Regions from separate parts of the Homo sapiens genome. Here region 2 is linked to region 1. Evidence: promoter capture Hi-C in 16 types of primary human blood cells and fetal thymus (Javierre and others, 2016). All regions are on one chromosome and are shown on one strand. Each heading gives the region's core, a stretch centred on a gene start or on the middle of the fragment in contact. The rest is flanking DNA. Distances are from core to core; before and after follow the strand shown. Region 1 holds the start of RAB8B (RAB8B, member RAS oncogene family). Region 2 overlaps USP3 (ubiquitin specific peptidase 3).

Region 1 (4,034 bases), core at 853-3,352:
GGGCCTCCCAAAGTGCTGGGATTACAGGCGTGAGCCACCGCGCCTGGCCATAAATATACATTTTTAAAAAGAAATAAATTCCACTGGTCTTTGCGGAATTTTTTCCCCTTCTTTTCCAGGAATGAGGAGGAAGATATAGAACAATCCACACTGTTCAGATCATGGCTGAAGCCACGTTCAGAGGCTTGCTCAAGGACTGGCTTGGGCAAGAGGGCTCAGCCTGTGCCAGAGGGCAGAATCCTTCTTCATTAGGGGCAGACACTGTGACTTTGAACTCATTAGAGCTTTGTTCCTATCTAGTGGACTCTAGGAATGAGACATTCCGTAAGCAGCAGCAGCAGCAGCAGCAGCCCTCTGGCTACTGTATGATCAATCAGTTAATGATGACACATTTCATCTTTTACCCGCATAGAAAATGAAGGCCAATTCTAGGGCCAACTAAGTCTTCTGCCACAATGCAACTGAGAATGGATTATCAGTGGCACTGTTCCTAAAGTCACAAGGCACACAGTATGTGTCCTTAGAAAAGCCTGCTGGTTTGTTCAACTAACTGTCCACGGTTTTTCCCCCCCCCCCTTTTCTTATTCCACTAATGGTGGAGTCCACTGGTTCCCTTAATAACCTCTAGCCTTCCAGAAGGTGTTTCCTTATAGCTAAGGTAAATGTCTGGACCAGTGGTTCTCAAATACTTTGGTTTCAAGACCCCTTCATCCTCTTAAAACTTATTGAAGACTCCAAGAAGCTTTTTTTCATGTGGGTTTTACCTGTCGGTATTTGACATATTAGAAATTAAAACTTCGAAGGGAGAACAACAGATGAGAGACACAGAGCCCTGGCAGGGTGGACTCCTAGTCCCACACCTTCTTAGCCTTTTGCTTCCACATTACCTGAACCAGTCAACACCCCTTTCACAACAGCTAATCCGGTTGGGTTTCTGCCACTAGCAAATGAAAGGGGACTGAACAATACATCCACAAAACAGAGAATTAGCCTAAGACAATAAATAATAAAGGATTAACTTGAGTATAACAGAATGCTGTTTCCTCCCTATATTCGTCATCAATTAAGTGAGAGCCTACTGAAGAGTAATGAATATTACCATCACTGCTAACAGTGCCTTATGGGTTTCAAAGAACTTTCACATTTAGTATTTAAGTTTCACTGGAACCCTATGAAGTATCTTGTTTCATATCCATTTTACAGATGAGAAAACTGAAATGTCCAGTGCCTGTGTGACTTGTCACAGCGGTTTTGCAGCAGAGCCAAGACTAAATTCAAATCTTACTCTCTAAATTCCCGTGGCCCGCCTCACAGGATGCTTGCAGTTTCATGGGGCACAGACCTGTAGCACAAGACTTCCCAGATTTAAAAATCCATCCTCCTGCGAGGAGAGGGGAGCGATCAGCGTAGCAGATTCTCTAAATACTCATTGTATTTGGCTCTGGTCTGTGTGGCGTGAAGAAGGGGGCACGAGTGAGGTTCGAGTTAGCATGGTAACCATTCTTTCTCAGCTCTGTGACTGAGGGGCTGCGGGAGGGGGTTATAGTGGTGCTGGGCATGGCCTCGGGGAGAAGCTGGATAATGCCCTCTGCAGATAACCCGTAGGCTGCGCCACAGCAGCGCCAAGGAAAGAAAGCATCTCTGCTCCAGGTCTCGGCGGAAGAGATGCGGGAACTACGGGGCTCTGATTCTGAGGTCCTGGATTTGGAAGGCGTCTGCACACAAAGAAATAACAAAGTTAAGTTCCCGCGGCTCGACCAGCAGAGTACGAAACGGGGCCTCCCTTCCCAGCTCGGGTGGAAACGCCTCCACCCTGTCACCCCGCCCATAGCAGGTCTTTTATCCGCTGGAGCCGCCTGGACAGTCCTCGCGGGGCACGCCCGAGGCTCCCCGGAGGAACTACAAGTCCCATGAAGTCCCGGGGCGCGGGCGGTGATGACGAAGCCCTCGCCGATTGGCCGCACGGGGCGGGGCGCGCAGGCCTTCTCCGAGAGGAGGGGCGGGGCGTGGGGCGGGGCGAGCAGCGGCGGATTGGCGGGCACGCCCCCTCGCCCGCGGCCCCCTCCCCGCCTCTCTCCACCGCCTCCTCTGGCTCCCCGGTCAGAGGGCCGGAGCGAGAAGATGGCGAAGACGTACGATTATCTCTTCAAGCTCCTGCTGATCGGCGACTCGGGGGTAGGCAAGACCTGCCTCCTGTTCCGCTTCTCAGAGGACGCCTTCAACACCACCTTCATCTCCACCATCGGTGAGGGAGGGGCCGCGGCCCGGGACCGGGTAGAGAATTGGGGGGCGGGTACTAGGGGACGGGGAAAGGGCGGGGGGCGCTTGGGAGCCCGGGAGAGGAGACCCCGGGGACTGCAAGGTGGCGGGGGCACTGAGAGGGGCGAGGGCGTGAGGGAGAGGGGCGAGGGCGTGAGGGAGAGAGGCGAGCGGGAACGTGAGGCTAAGGGCGAAGGGGGAACTTGGGGGCAAAGGAACGGGAAGGGGAACAGAGGAACAAGGACTAGGGGTATTGGGGGAACGAGAGGGTTCGGAGACTGACAGGGAGGGGTCTTTGAGGGACAAAATGTGTTGGGGGGAAGACTCAGGAAATCTCATGTAGAGAGAAGGGGATAGTGGACGTGCCAATGATTAAAAGACAGGAGAGGAAGGAAATGTGAAGGGGGAAATGAGGGATGGGGGCAATGAGAGGGATGTGAAGTAAAGGGACAGAGGACACAAGGGACAGAGAGGTGAGAACCAGGCAACTGGAAGGGAATTCAGGGGAATGAGCGGTCAGGAGGTGAGGAAGAAGGGGACGGCTGGCCACAGGAGGTCTGGACTGAGATGTCGTAGGAGGGGACAGAAGAAAATTGTAGGTGGAAGAAGAGTTCAAGGGATCAGAGGGCAGAATGAGGATACTTGATGGAGAAAGTAAAGGGATCTGGGTGTGAGACAGAAAGGAAAAGAGGAAGCAACATCATAGTAAAGGGAGGTTGAGCAGAGAAGACAGAGGAGATGGAAAAGAGAGGAAATGGAAAGTAGTGGGGCGCAAGACTTGCTATAGTAACTGATTACCATTTTCTCTTCACTTCCTTTGGATCAAGTGCAGGAGAAAGCAAAATGTGACTAATGATGGAATAATGTCTATAGAGCGTTAATTTGTTCTGTGAGTGTTAATGGATGTTAAGGGAATTGGTGACTTTTGGAAATGATGTGGTCAGGAAAATATGGTTCACCTCTTTACTACCATCTCCTGAGAAGCAAGACTTCTCAGTATTTTAAATCCTTCGGTTTGAATGTTTAACAGCTTCTCAGCCAAGGAAATGAACTTACATTCTACCTGCCTCCCTGTATATTTTGCTTTGGTTCTAATTATTGTTAAGTGAATCACAACATGTGATATACCTCTCAGTTACTTCCAATTGAATCAAGAGTTTTTCTGATCCTGGCTGGGAGCTGTCCTTTCTACTTTTGTACTGGAAGACACTGTGTTCAGGTAATAAGATCTCTTAACTTATCATAAACTGAAGACCAAGTCAAAGCTGGTTTTAAGCTGTTTTAGAAGTGACCACCTTAACATCATTTCTCCTGTTAAATAGTTGCAGGTTAATTAAGTACCTTAAGAATACCTCAGCTTTTGGTTGTGTTGGTGATGTTTCTGGCCTCTAATAGTGGCTTATTTAGTCATCTTTCGTATGGTTCTTACAGCATATTTCACCATGAATTTCTGGGTTGGGAAATAATAGAGAGCTAGTGCTTTGGTAATACGTGTGTTTAAATATTTGTGTATTTTTAAGGATAATTTATCTTTTTTTAAAAAAAGAGTATTTGGTATAGAACACTCTTTAAGTATTAGTAAAGGCTATGGTTTGTTTGCTCATTCTGGATTCTTTCATATAGATTGAATGGTCTAAAATCTCCTGGGTGTTATGATGTCTGGGCTTAGGGAAGTTTGAATTGCAAGTTCTTGGCAGTCAGTCTTGAGTGGGACTTTTTCTTTTCTGAAAAAGCAGATTTTAAATGTCATCTCTCAAGTATATTCCTAAGATTTG
Region 2 (4,034 bases), core at 1,113-3,612, 320 kb after region 1:
ATCTGCAAAGAAAAGGGTAATACTTTGCATTTACTTCACAGGTTGCTGTTAGGATGAACAAGGTAATTTTTTGTGAAAACTTTGAGAAACTTGTATACACTGTTCTAGTAATAGGTGGTATTAGAGGTCAGAACATCTTTGTAAAGAGGACTCTGAATAATTAAATATCCAAAGCCCATTAAATGGGGACTAGAACAGACTGGCTTTATGCTGAATGATGCTTTACAGGGAGATACAGAACTCAACAAGATTACAAGAAGTAAGAAGTAATTATACTTCAGAATTAGCATGAGCTTCTTATCCATGGAAGGCACTGTGTGTTGGGTTATATAATTGTGTATGACAGTGGTTCTTACACTTTTTGATCTTAGGACCCCTTTACACTCTTAAAAATTGTTGAGCACCTGAAGAGCCTTCGTGTAGCTTATATCTGTTGATGATGTTTATTAGAAATTAAAACTGAGAAAAACTTAAAATATGTATTTATTAATATGCTTACAAATAATAATAGACCCACACCCATAACATAAATTGACAGTTTATGTAAAATGTTTTTCAAAACAAAAATTTAGTGGGAAGAATGGCATTATTTTGCCTTTTTGTAACTCTTTGTTCAGCTTTATAGAAGACAGCTGGATTCTTACATTGCTTCTGCATTCAGTCTCTTGAGATGTCACATCATGCAGCCTCAGGAACACCCCACTGCATGCTTGTGAGAGAATGACTGTAAACAAAAGTAACATCTTAAATATTATGTATGAAAATTGTTTTGACCTTCTGGATCCCCTGAATGGGTCCTGGAAACTTTCAGGGGTCCAGGACCACACTTTGAGAACCCACTTGTGTAAGCTATAGTTAACAGTTAAGGATACCTGCTCATATCAAAATAACTTTAAAAAATTAGAGAAATCCTTAAGGCTACCAACGTTTATGTTTCTGTAGAGACCTGAGGTTTTTGAAATGTATTAGCTGGGAAATAGAGCATGGGCTCTAGTAGTCCTTTGCTGCCAAAAAAGTTAACAGTCTAATCTAGCTGGGGGAGAGACAGGAAGCTAACTAGTTAGAAGATACATCCATGTGGTTTAAGGTAAATGTTGAAAATAGCTATCTCCTAATAACGTAAAGGCTGATTTATGTCTAATTGTTGCTTAAGGGATTCTAGTTTAAAATGAAAAAGTTTTAAATAAAAGGGCATTCTCTCAAGCTTTTTGTTATGTGCACATACCAGATGTTATTTTCAGAAGTTGGAGGCTTGGGCATTCCTTATTTTTGTGGGTAAAAGAGTTTAACCAGTGGGAAAAAACAAAAATTGTTTAAAAAGATGCCCTGAATGCAAGTGTTTTGATAACTAAGGAAAGCCAAGGACCAAGCATTTGAACTTGAGGGTTTGGGTTAAACAGCCAGTTAAATTAGAGATATTTAGTAGGATAGGCATGCTAATTTTTCCCTGATTAATTCTTCAATGAGTTGAGAGTGCCTCTTTAAGTTTTCAGTACACACTTGCCTTCATATTACTCTACCCAAGAAAAGTAAGTGTAGATCAAGTAAATGTTCTGCAATTTTGCACCAAAAACTGCAGATAATTCCACCCAAAATACTGGAGATAAACCCTTTTTTAAGAGATCCATTCAGTAGGATGAGGTGTTGATTATTGGTTGTCAGTGGTAATAAATTTGTAATGGACTGATCAGGTTGTGATAAAGAGAAGAAATCAACCTTGATGGAGTGATGGGTTATTTTGTATCGTATTTCTCCACAACCTACATTTAACACTCGTTTGCCCAGTGGACTAAATTTTCTAAATACAATCAGTCATTTCCTTGTCATTAGGTCAAATGCTTTTACTGCTTTTTAGTAACATTCTATGATGTCTTTATTAAGTGCCTAATACTTAATAGAGCAATTAGTAAATATTTGCCTGATAAATAAAGGAACTATCACTTAGATGTGTCTGGCAGGGTCTTTATGTTGAAAATAAACGCAGAGTGAACTTTCCCCAGAATGCTTTCACTAGCCCGCACTCCCAGTATTTTAGTCAGTAAACGTTGGCTGGATTGTGAGCAAATGACCATCTGCAGTGTTGTTATCACAATGAATTTGTGTTCTTTTGGCAGTCTGTATTTATAGATGGGCAGGTGGACAATTTAGTTGTAAATGTGGATGGGGTAGTTAAAAATCAGTGGACAGGTGATACTTTTTTCACATTAATTCTAAAAAGTAGTATTTGAGTTTTATATATCCTTCTGAAGAATTTAAACTTTTTTGGTAATATTTATAAAGCTTAAGTCAAATGTCTTTCTAGTCTTTCTGCAGTATTCCTCCCCAACCCCGTCCCCCAGAATCTTAGAGCAATCTCAGCTTATTTCTAGAGTCTCTAAATGATTGCTCATGGATGTGAAATGTGTGAAATTTAGAATGTGCTCCATGTATGTGTTTTGTTTAAAGAAGCTTCAGTATAGAGATTGAGCCTAACATTTACTTGTTGTGAAGAAGTTTTGACACATTGATGAGAAGTTCTTTCCCTAATAATATGCTTAATAGTGTATACAGAACATCCTTCATGGTCTAAGCAGAAGAAATGATGGAGTTGGGGGAAGAATTCGAACTCTTTGGTGTGGTTTCCTGTTATTTATCCTCAAAATAATTTATTCTCATTCTTTGCTTGTACACCATTAGCCTTAGGCTCGTGTAACAGCCTCCTTTTTCCTCATTGAAATGTATGTAATTTCCTTCTCCACTGGAATATAAAAGATTGATTTTGGATCCTTCAAGCTAGATTTAGAAATACTTATGTTTTTATAGTGTTTGCAGCTCAGTGAGTAGACCAGTGAGTAATTTAGTGTGTAGCTCAGTGAGTCATTTAAATTCCTGTTTTAAAATTTGAGTCCCTCTTCCATCAGGAGCTGATTAACATGTACATTTCCCCTAACCTAACCTGCTCGTTTTTTTTCTTTTTGAGCTTTTCTCCCCTTCTTGAGCTTGTTTGTTTGTTTTTAATATTTTTCCTTCTTTGAAAACAAAATGTTAGTCTCCTTTGATTAAGCTGCAGTCTCTGACCTACATACATACAGGTTTGTGTTCAACCAAGGCATTGAAATAAATAGATTTAGTCGGTAGATTATCATTGTTTGAAGTGGAAAAGGTATGCTGTTTAACATATTTTGATATTTTATGTTTATTCATTGCCTCTTTAGACAGGAGAGCAATTGCATTCTAGGTGTGTTAATAGAGCTTTCCTGGACAGATGGCTTGGAAGGAAGTACTTTGATGGGTTCTCAGTAGGGGCTAGTACTTTTTGGAGGGTGTGTTTGTGATTAAGCTTACCTTGATTGACAGTTTAGAATGCTGAGAATAGCATTAACAACAGTAACAGCTTGTTCATCTTACCTAGAATTGTCTTGTGCCAAGACCCCTCAAGATGCTCTGAGATTTCTGTGTAGTGGTTTCTTTTGAGAATGTAGGTAAGAATAGGTGTCCTTGAGACTGAAAAGAAATTCACCTAAAATTGTTCATTGTGGTTGTATCTTAAAATCTTTGGGGTCGTTGAATGAACTTTGGCTTAGAAATTTGTAGAGATCGTCTTTTTAACTGCTGTGAGTCTGCAGATGTGATTATCTATAGTAATTCCAGATGTTTTCTCATCTATTAGTTTTACTGAGTAGGAAGATAACTGAGAACAACATAAAGTAACTTCAAAGCAGTTTGCTAGCATTTAATCCTGACTAATTTAATTAATTATTCATCCTTGTAGTTTTTCCTATTTTATTGATTATGAAACTGAGACAAAGGTTACGAGTTGCCCAAGATGCTTGGGGAGTATTAAAGATAGCCCAAAGCTTAAACTCTAACACTGTTCAGACTTTTAGCTTGCTTTTTCTTAAAAAAAAAAAAAAAAGAGTCTTTATTTTGTTATTCAGTAACTTAATGCTTGACAATTTAAAAAATACAAAATGTTTGGAACACATACTTTAAATAATTCCTTTGAAGATTTTTGATATGAAAATATATTTTAAGTTCCACATCTCAAAAATTAC

The links. Contacts are between HindIII fragments. The CHiCAGO score rates a contact against its expected background, and 5 or more counts as called.
Region 2: a contact is called between a fragment that was not itself captured here and the fragment with the promoter of RAB8B in region 1, in 8 of 17 cell types (fetal thymus, naive CD4 T cells, activated CD4 T cells and 5 more). The highest score is 10.1, in fetal thymus.

Annotation. Positions count from the first base shown.
Region 1 is chr15:63,187,504-63,191,537 of GRCh38, forward strand. RAB8B (RAB8B, member RAS oncogene family) reads left to right here and starts at 2,103. Exons shown (of 8, transcript NM_016530.3): 1 at 2,103-2,245. The coding sequence starts at 2,122. LOC101928972 (a long non-coding RNA gene) reads right to left here and starts at 1,928. Exons shown (of 4, transcript XR_932355.4): 1 at 1,343-1,928. RefSeq lists an enhancer at 1,528-1,677 and a silencer at 1,858-2,187. The HindIII fragment of the contact is 3,523 bases long and covers 741-4,034 here.
Region 2 is chr15:63,507,388-63,511,421 of GRCh38, forward strand. All of the region lies in intron 1 of USP3 (ubiquitin specific peptidase 3), which reads left to right. Among named protein-coding and RNA genes, the nearest start is that of USP3, 4.8 kb to the left of the region's middle. The HindIII fragment of the contact is 168 bases long and covers 2,279-2,446 here.